Regions from separate parts of the Homo sapiens genome. Here all the other regions are linked to region 3. Evidence: promoter capture Hi-C in 16 types of primary human blood cells and fetal thymus (Javierre and others, 2016). All regions are on one chromosome and are shown on one strand. Each heading gives the region's core, a stretch centred on a gene start or on the middle of the fragment in contact. The rest is flanking DNA. Distances are from core to core; before and after follow the strand shown.

Region 1 (3,261 bases), core at 28-2,527, 280 kb after region 3:
ATACGATATTACAATTTTATGGGACCCCCGTTGTATATGTAGTCTTTCATTTACTGAAATGTTATGTAGTGAATGACTGTGATTATGTTGGGGTTGATTCCCTGCATGGTGGTTTTAATCTGTTCTGTGTAGATTAAAGAGGTTTTACTCTTGTGTGCTTGTTAAATGTTTACTGCAAACATGACCTAGGTTTGTCAGGCCGTTGGCTGTGAAGGAATATATTTAGTAGATCCTTTATTTACAAAAGGAGTATTTTACTGCTTTGGAAGAGGAAGCTCAGATATTATCAAGAAATAGGGATTATGTAGAACAAAACTAGTTTGTCTAGTGGAAAAATGACTGTATCTGAATCTAAAGTATCCCATTGTGTGTTCAGTAAAAGCTTCCTTTTAGTTCTGAAACCGGCTTTAATTTAGAGAACGATTGATCGTGGGCAGCTTTATTTCTAGATGAGGGATAAAAATCCTGATGATAGATGTGTGATTCTATGCATACTGTCTTCACGGAAGTGCAAAATTTTAAGTCATAGTTGGATAATTTTATTCTTTTCAATTGTTTAGTGAGTAATTATTACTTATTGCATAGACTGTGGGGAAGTAATAGAAAAATGTTCTTCCCTCATCGAGCTTACATTCTAGTGGGAGTGAAAACAGCAGGTAGAATTTCTCTGAAGAATATATACTGTATCCATGAATATGTAATCAGTCTCCTGACCAGTGACTTATATTTGATTTAGATCAAATCTACTCTGACACTGGCCTTGTGAGATTGGTTTACTGGGTAACCTAGTAACCCTTGTCTTTTGGAATAGCTTGACAGCCTGTTTGCTGTTTTATTCTTTTATTAGGTCCAGTCTTTTTTTCTCGTGTAGTTTGATCTAGTGGTGTTTTGCCAAGTTAAACCAACTGCATTTTTTTTAAGATGGTGTCTCACTCTGTCACCCAGACTGGAGTGCAGTGGTACGATCTTGGCTTACTGCAACCTCCACCTCCCAGGTTCAAGCGATTCTCCTGCCTCAGCCTCCCGAGTAGCTGGGATTACAGGCATGAGTCTCTATGCCCAGCCCTAACTGCGTATTTTGAAGTGTTTATATTTCATTGTTTTTGGAGGATTTGAGGCACTTTATTTTTTGTTGTTGTTTTTTGAGACGGAGTTTTGCTGTGACGCCCAGGCTGGAATGCAGTGGCACGATCTCGGCTCACTGTAACCTCTGCTTCCTGGGTTCAAGCGATTCTTCTGCCTCAGCCTCCCGAGTAGCTGGGACTATAGGCGCGTGCCACCACGCCGGCTAATTTTTGTATTTTTAGCAGAGGTGGGGGTTTCACCATATTGGCCAGGCTGGTCTCGAACTCCCGACCTCAAGTTATCTGCCTGCCTTGGCCTCCCACAGTTCTGGGATTACAGGTGTGAGCCACCGTGCCCGGCCTGAGACACTTTAACATTATCTTTTTCTTTGTTATTTCTGTGCTTTCTCATATTTACCAGTTGTCTTTGATTTTGTACTTTTTGGGGGATGGTATATAGCTTTCCATGGAATAGCTGGGACCATTTTTTTTTTTTTTTTTTTTTTTGAGACGGAGTCTCGCTCTGTCGCCCAGGCCGGACTGCGGATTGCAGTGGCGCAATCTCGGCTCACTGCAAGCTCCGCTTCCCAGGTTCACGCCATTCTCCTGCCTCAGCCTCCCGAGTAGCTGGGACTACAGGCGCCCGCCACCGCGCCCGGCTAATTTTTTGTATTTTTAGTAGAGACGGGGTTTCACCTTGTTAGCCAGGATGGTCTCGATCTCCTGACCTCATGATCCACCCGCCTCGGCCTCCCAAAGTGCTGGGATTACAGGCGTGAGCCACCGCGCCCGACCTTATTGTCTCTTAAAGCCTTTCATTTAAAGTTCTAAATATTGTCTTGTAACATAAACAGCAGTATTTTTGCTGCCAAATTTCCTTACAAGTCTCCTGTTTGGGGGATGTGTTCTTACTGGCTTTTTATTAGTTAATCCTGTCCCTGTATGGATTATTTTGAATAGTTCATAGCCCAATTGCTTTTTATCATTTCCATAAATTCTATCCAACAGGTCAAATTTTTGAACATTCTAATAGAGTCCTTTGAAAATGTGTTGGTCATCTAAAAATTAGTTTGAGAAAACAGTTTAAAAGAAAAAAAAAGGAAGCTTATAATTAGGTTGCTTCTTTTGTTATGAATGAAAAGTAGATTCCTAAATGCAGTCATGTTTATTTTTGTCATGTTTATTATTACATTTATATAAAGTAGGGAGTCTTTAGTATATTTTTCCTTTCATAGCTAGAATCAAAGATAAAAGCGAATACTGACTTCCTCCAGCTAATCAGTCATATAGTCAGATTTACCCTCCCAAGTCTTCAGAATAATGTCTTGATCCATTAGAATACTGTGTTCCAAACTGTGTTTAATGAGCTTTATGAAGCTTCCATGATAACATGAGCTTCCTTGAGGCCTCTTTTAAGGTAGGCTTTGAAAAAAAAAATCTGATACTCTTATCTTTGCTTTTGCTATTTCTACCTTCCACAGCCATGTTTGCTTTTCGTTCATTGCTCTTTCTGTTCTATCTTGATATCTTTCAAGGTCTGAGATAGCAATTTTGCTCTCAGTGGAACTATTATGTATATCATCATTTAACACCATTTAACAGTTGTTAATATTGCCTTGTGACATGCATTCCTAATTTTATTATTGCTTGTCTCTTCAACTAGCCTTTTGAAGGGTCTTAATAATTTGTTTCCACTCGTTTCCCTCTTTAGCCTAACAGTGTGCCATTATACCTTTGTAATACTTGTGCTATTTATTTATTTATTTATTTATTTATGTTTTTTGAGACAGGGTCTCGCTCTGTCGCCCAGGCTGGAGTGCAGTGGTACCATCATGGCTCACTGCAGACTTGACCTCCTGGGCTCAAGTGATCCTCCTGCCTCCCTTGCCTGAGTAGCTGGGACTACAAGCATGTACCACCACGCCTAGCTTTTTAATCATTTTTTGTAGAGATGAGTTCTCACTATGTTGCCTAGGGTGGTCTTGAGCTCCTGGGCTCAAGCGATCCCCCTGCCTTGGCCTCCCAAACTTCTGGGGTTATAGGTGTGAGCTACCGCACCTAGCCTGCTCAATAAATACTTAAATAATAGAAGACTGGCTTGAATTTAGAGTGCTTTATCACTCCCAGGTTTTTCTCAATAGAGATCCAGAAGTTAGGACTTTATGGCATAAAAATAGATCCACAGTTTCCAGAGGTT
Region 2 (3,417 bases), core at 182-2,681, 370 kb before region 3:
CCAGAATTCCTAGGCGCATGCGCGCTGCCATTGTGATGCTCCTTTCCCGGTAACTCGCCCTCTCAGGCAAACCTGAAGATAGCGGCAATTCTCCGGTGGGGGGCGGAGACGGTTTCTGCCCGACTCTCCGCCCCCTTCGTGATAGGCAATGGGACTAGCCAACCGACGCTGCGAGTTCGGAACGCACTCTCCAATCAGCACCTGTAGCGGAGAGGTGGGCGTGCGCGCTGGCAGGGCAGGTGGGCTAGGCTGTGTCGGGTTACGAGGGGGGAGAATAACGTCGGGTCGGGTCAGCGGGCTCTGCAGTAGTCGCCGCAGCGGCGATGGGAGCGGTGGGGACGAGGCGGCGGCGGCGGCAGGAGGGGGAGCAGGTGCTGGCACAAGAGCAGCGGCTTGGGGGAGCCGGCAGCAGCAGTAACAGCAGCAGCAGCCGCCGCCGCCGCCGCCAGTAAACGCGGACGGTACCCCAGGGGACTACCCAGCCGGCCGGCCCTGGAAGCCGCGCTCGGGTCCCGCCGCAGTCGGCGGTGGGGGATGGGCAGGCAGTGGCGGTCCCGCCTGCCGAGGGTTAACCCCCGCCGGTCCCGGTCCTGAGCTGGACCAGAGCCCTCCTCCAGAAACCCCTGCGTCCGCCACGGCCCAGGTAGGACACACCCCCCGACCCCCCAGGGCGCCGCCCTCCCCCAGTCTCGACCCCCTCCTCCGGCCGCACCCCTCGCCGAGTGACCGAGCCTGCTGAGGAGGGGAGGGGTACCGGGGACTTTCAGTTCGCTGCAAGCCCGGGGCTCGTGCCAGACCCCGTCACTCTCCATCTCGGAGATCGTTCTGGTTCTGCCCGATTTCCCCGAAGGCTGCCGCCTCGTTTTGCCCCAGGCTTTGGGTGTCTTCACTGAACTTGGAGGGTCACGAAGCTTCGTTCTGCGTCTCTCTCTGTGGGTGACCCACATATCACTTGTACCCATGCCACTTCTGGTACCAGCACCGAACACGAAGGATTCCTAGGAAATCTGAGCGCTTATTTCCCACCCCGCCTCCCCAACTATCATGGAAAGGAACATGGGACTACTGAATCTGTTTGCTGTGTTGTAACGACAGTGAAGGCCGCGACTTTCTTGTACTTAGGGTGCTGAAGTAATGATCTGAGGGATTTGCTCGTCATTTGCTGTGGCAGAGATGATGTTGACACCCTGGGATGCTGTGGGAGGGACAAAAGACTCACGTATATGTTCTGTCAAATCGGAGAAGTAAATAATCCATTGGGATGCCAGGATACTTTATTCTACAGCGAAGTTAATTTTGTATCCGTCGAGGCTACAGTAGAGGTAAAAATGACATTGAGTTGTACTTTGCTTTGAATTAAAGTTGATGGGTAGCAGCAATCCTGGTATTAACTCTTCTCTCTCATCGCTTTAGAAATTATTCTTTCTTTGAACATTAAAGAGGACAGTTTTATTATACACTTCTAATAATGTGAAGATGTTTTGTAATTCAGTAGAAATTGAGTTTCTGTGTGTGTAGGAGGGTCATGTTATGAATGGGCACATGTAGACACACACGCAGAGGGAGGATCCACTCAGTGTGTTTTGTTAACAATGTTTGGTTCTGAGCCATTGATAATAGTTGCATTGGTATCTAAACCCTGATTTGCCACAGTATAACACAAAGATGTGTTGGCTGTGTACCTTTGGCTAAATGGAATAGAATAAAGTTCATTTGGGGATAGAAGGGGGAAATGATTTTAACTTATCAAGGGAATTGAATGCTATGTATTGCTTGCTTTATTTCCTTTTTTTTTTTAAATAAAGAAGCAGTAATGATGACAAATATAGCTTAATATGATTAATCTTGAGGCATTTGTCTGAAGTCAAAAAATGTTTCAAATAATGTGTGTGTTATATTGTGATCTATGCAAATTGAAAACATTGAAGGAAATCTTTGATTTAGAAGCTTATGTTTTCCTGTATGATAACATTTTATCAAGACACCGAAGGGGACATATGAAGCATGGTTTTAAAGGAAAGTTTCTCTTAACATTTTTCTTTTATGATAGAATGTTAGGAAATGCTTTCTTCCCTCTTCCAGTTTTAGACACAGAAGAAATTAAAGTCCATAACTTCATTAATTTAATATATAATATCAAGTTGATGCAAATTTGTACATTGGTTAGGGGGCTGAGAATAATATATCTTGCTCATTATCTTGTACTATGGTTAATACATAATTTAGTAAATTCTCTATTGCATTATATATGACTTTAGATTGTTGTATCTTCTTTTGATTTTAAGTGTTGATTATTTTAATACTTCAGGAAATCTTCAAGAGGTTAGACCTCATTTGCTTTAGCAAATTGAACTCAATTATGTGGGGCTTCAAGTATCTTTAAATGTAATACTAGAAGGGAAGTTTGCATAATTTAGACCATTTTCGAGCGTATTTTACTTCTAAAAAGTGCACTAAAAATGTGGCAATGATAAGTTATTGGTTTTTCAAAGTAAATGAATATTACAGATCCGAGTTAGCTGTGATCATGGAATTTAAATTTCACTTTGGTGGGGGGCAGCCACTTTTTTATATGCTTTATAACTTTAAAAAGTAACATATCCAGATGACTGCTTGATTGCAACTCATGAGAGACTCTGAGCCAGAACCACCTACCTAAGACACTTTCAGATTCGAATCCTGAGAAACTGTGTGAGATAATAAATGTTTGCTGCTTTAAAAAAAAAAACCTCATGCCTGTAATCCCAGCACTTTGGGAGGCCAAGGCAGGAGGATCGCTTGAGCCCAGGAGTTTGAGACCAGCCTAAGTAACACAGGGAGATCCTGTCTCTACAAAAAACAAACAAAAATTTAGCCGGGCATGGTGGCTCACACCTGTGGTTCCAGCTACTAGGGAGACTGAGGGGGTGGATCGGAGGTTGAGGCTGCTGTGATCTGTGATCGCTCCACTGCACTCCAGGCTGGGTGACAGAGCAAGACCCCATCTCTTGAAATAAATAAATAAATAAATAAATACAAATCTATGACAAGGGAAAGTGTTTAGGATCATTATTGATCTAGTAAGGACTGTGTTGATCAGTAAAATAAAAAGTCTTTGAGAATTATGGAAAATATAGCTATAGCTTACTTCTTTCCACACTTAAAAAAAAATCCTATAGGAAATATTCTTTTACAAATATATAGCAAACAGTGTTTTCAATTTGAGGGTATGCTACTCAAAATTACTCTAGTCATGTATTCATTTTTTGTTCTTATTGAGGTTTTTGAGAGACACTCAAAATGTAGCTGGAGCTATTTCTGTTTGATTAGTAATATTGCAATATACCTTCAATATTTATGGATTTTTGAAATTAAATACATTTTATTTAGTTTTATTTCCTAGTCTTTTTTTTTTTTGTCATCCAGCATATTGTAAAC
Region 3 (3,316 bases), core at 810-3,309:
ACTAAAAATACAAAAATTAGCCGGGTGAGGTGGTGAGCACCTGTAGTCCCAGCTACTCATGAGGCTGAGGCAGGAGAATGGCATGAACCCAGGAGGTGGAGCTTGCAGTGAGCCAAGACTGTGCCACTGCACTCCAGCCTGGGCAACAGAGCGAGACTCCGTCTCAAAAAAAAAAGAAAACACAGGAGAGAAGGGAGGAAGGATTACACTGTAGAGTGCTGTGGTCACTCCTGGTAAAGTTAGTCAACTAGGACCACCTGAATCTCCCCATCACCCAGACAATGGGTGTTCAACAAAAGCTTAAAATCTTTTAATACAGTATCACAGCCTCTTATAACAGTTCATCTTGAGAGGGGATACAATGTGTCAAAAGGGAGAGTACTAAGATCTAATTCTCCTTTAACAGTCTAGTGACCATGGGCAAGTTTCTTGGTCTAAGCCTTAGTTTCTTAAATTAAAAAATACTGTAAGGTATTAGAGTCTCTAATGGCTCTTCTGACTATAAAAAGTTATGTATTTTCCGTAAATCTTCCATCATGTTTGTAGTGCTTTTTTTTTTTTTTTTTTCCCTGAGACAGGGTCTCACTCTGTCGCCCAGGCTAAGTGCAGTGGCCCGATCGCATCTCACTGCAACCTCCATCTCTTAAGCTCAAGCCATCTTCCCATCTGAGCCTCCAGGACCCATGTGGTCCGCGGAGTAGTTGGGACTACAGGTGTACGCCACCATGCCGGCTAATATGTGCTGATTTTTACAGATCAGTTTAACTTTTCTGTTTTCTTTTTAGTGAAATTTCTCAACTTCCTCTATATATCAAAATTTATTTCCCCATTTTTCTCAATGCCCTTGATCCCACTTGCCCCATGCCCTCCTGTCACTGCATTCCATTATTTCCTCACATGTTCAATTTCTCCCTCTGTTGGCTCCTTCCTCCGACATGCTCCTCTTGCCCAACCTAAAACTGCCACTCCGTGACTCCTTGGGTTAATGTCTCTTTTCTCTCCTTCTCAAAATTAATCTCTTCCTCCATTCACGTTCCAAGGTCTTATCTTTTTAGCCAATACTTTTTTTTTTTTTTTTTTTTTTTTGCCTTTAAAGATGCCAAGGCCGGGCGCGGTGGCTCACGCCTGTAATCCCAGCACTTTGGGAGGCCGAGGCGGGTGGATCACGAGGTCAGGAGATCGGGACCATCCTGGCTTACAAGGTGAAACCCCGTCTCTACTAAACATACAAAAAAAAATTAGCTGGGTGTGGTGGTGGGCGCCTGTAGTCCCAGCTACTCCAGAGGCTGAGGCAGGAGAATCGCTTGAACCAGGAAGGCGGAGGTTGCAGTGAGCCGAGACCACGCCACTGCACTCCAGCCTGGGCGTTAGAGCGAGACTCTGTCTCATATAAATAAATAAATAAATAATAAAATAAAATAAAAATGTCAAAAAAGAGCTTCTGGCGCTCTTCTCTACCCAGCACCTCCCGCCCCAAATACGATTCAACACTTCCCACAAACGAGGGTTGTTGGAAATGCTTGTTCCGCAAGGGGACAGAACGACCCGTATTTCCCATCCCCGCCCTTACACTACAGTCTAGAGGCAGTATCACTGGATGAAAAAAAGGCTGGTAACAGTCTAATCTCCCACAAACTGGACTGGGACAAATTTACCCTACAGACACTCAAAACACAGTCTACCCTAAACACCATCTACTCAGATCCCCGCTTTCCAAGCATCCACGGCAGAACGTTCGCGGCTGTTGCCTGGAAGGGGCTCTTATTACTCTAGTACAGACCCCAACCAGGACCCTCACCACTCCCACAGCCAGCAGCACCAACTCACAGCCATATTGTTGCCACCTTGGGCACCCCCTTGATGACACCACCGCCACCCCCACGTACCTGATTGACCATCCCCGAAGCTATGAAGTGGCCTAGCACTAGCCCAGCGCCGTTAGGCGCGGACGCCGGGTCCCACGGGTTGGCAGCGGCCATGGCTCGGACGCACCTTCCGCGAAGGCGCCAAGAGTGAGCGGGATCGCAGGGCGAACGCACGGCGCGGCTCGATGACGTCACAGGGCGTTCCCGCCCGGGACTAAGCCGGGGAGCGCATCCCGGCTACTGCGGGTCCTGGGTCTTCACCTGCGGAGCCTTACGGCAGCTGAGCGGTGGGAGGCGAGTCCGGGGCTCCCTGATCTTCCGTAGGCTCCCAGAGGCGCCTGGCCTCCGCAGAGCTGCAAAGGCGGCAGGGCTTGGTGGTCGGGCTGTGTGTTCTTCCGTTTCTTCCTTGTCGCTCTTGGGTCGGGCCCCAGGAGCCAGGGATCGGCGGGAGTTGAGAGCTGGGGCAGGAGCCCCAGCCGGGAGGCCGACCGGGTGGACTGGGCGGTGACAGCAGCGCTTCCTTCCCGCAGGGACCTGAGCCGCGGCGCTAGGATGGGAAACAGTGCGCTCCGCGCTCATGTGGAAACGGCGCAGAAAACTGGTGTCTTTCAGCTTAAGGACCGAGGGCTGACCGAGGTGAGACTGGGAGGGACACGACCAGGGAACTTAAAGGGAGAGGGACGGCGGGGGCGGCGAACTTAGTCGGTGCGGGATTCCCCACGCTGTGAACTCCTTTCTCCAGTTCCCCGCAGACTTGCAGAAGCTGACGAGCAATCTCAGGACCATCGACTTGTCCAACAACAAGATCGAAAGCCTACCGCCTTTGCTGATAGGAAAGTTCACTCTGCTGAAGAGCCTCTCCCTGAACAACAACAAACTGAGTATGGCTCTCGCCAGGGAGGCTTTTGCTAGTGATCAGCTGTTACCAGGGGTGGTTTTCTCTTACAAGCTGATTTTTGTTTTTGTTATGAAACCGTGCAGGAGGGCTCAAGTTGCGAATGCCGGAATCCTTGAAGCCTTCTTTCTACTTCTTGTAATTACATCTAAAATAAGCCTTATAATGATTGGGTGTTATAATGATTGTTACTGGGTTAATTTGGACTTGAAAGAGAAGAACATTTTGGGGATGTAATGTAAACAAAGCTACCTAACTTGGAATGGGGGATGGATGAGAAGGGGAGGATCTTCCAAATATCACAAAATTGCTGTCGGATTGTGCCTTGGGCCCCTTTACAAAAGGAGCCCATTATACACACAAATGCTCTCCGGCATTTTGATGGCACCCTCACCTTCTAAAGACTATGTTGGTAAAATGCAATATCTAAAAATGGCACATGTGGGAGTTTTACATATATTAACAAGAGGCGAAGCAGGCTGCCATATAGTCTTTATAAACTTCATCAAAGTTGTTTTCAGCTCTATCACATTCAGGTTTTAAAAAAATTTTTCTT

Evidence for each region. Contacts are between HindIII fragments. The CHiCAGO score rates a contact against its expected background, and 5 or more counts as called.
Region 1: a contact is called between a fragment that was not itself captured here and the fragment with the promoter of LRRC57 in region 3, in 1 of 17 cell types (fetal thymus). The highest score is 6.9, in fetal thymus.
Region 2: a fragment that was not itself captured here is called in contact with the fragment with the promoter of LRRC57 in region 3 in 2 of 17 cell types (fetal thymus and naive CD4 T cells); the score reaches 6.0 in fetal thymus.

What each region holds. Positions count from the first base shown.
Region 1 is chr15:42,268,253-42,271,513 of GRCh38, reverse strand. All of the region lies in intron 2 of TMEM87A (transmembrane protein 87A), which reads left to right. Among named protein-coding and RNA genes, the nearest start is that of GANC, 3.3 kb to the left of the region's middle. The HindIII fragment of the contact is 1,786 bases long and covers 385-2,170 here.
Region 2 is chr15:42,917,664-42,921,080 of GRCh38, reverse strand. TTBK2 (tau tubulin kinase 2) reads left to right here and starts at 303. Exons shown (of 15, transcript NM_173500.4): 1 at 303-643. RefSeq lists enhancers at 1-484, 485-985 and a silencer at 302-711. The HindIII fragment of the contact is 1,036 bases long and covers 914-1,949 here.
Region 3 is chr15:42,547,536-42,550,851 of GRCh38, reverse strand. It overlaps LRRC57 (leucine rich repeat containing 57), which reads left to right and starts at 2,059. Exons shown (of 6, transcript NM_153260.3): 1 at 2,059-2,159; 2 at 2,396-2,501; 3 at 2,608-2,746. The coding sequence starts at 2,418. It overlaps HAUS2 (HAUS augmin like complex subunit 2), which reads right to left and starts at 2,014. Exons shown (of 6, transcript NM_018097.3): 1 at 1,887-2,014. The coding sequence starts at 1,979. RefSeq lists an enhancer at 1,754-2,223. The HindIII fragment of the contact is 3,855 bases long and covers 302-3,316 here.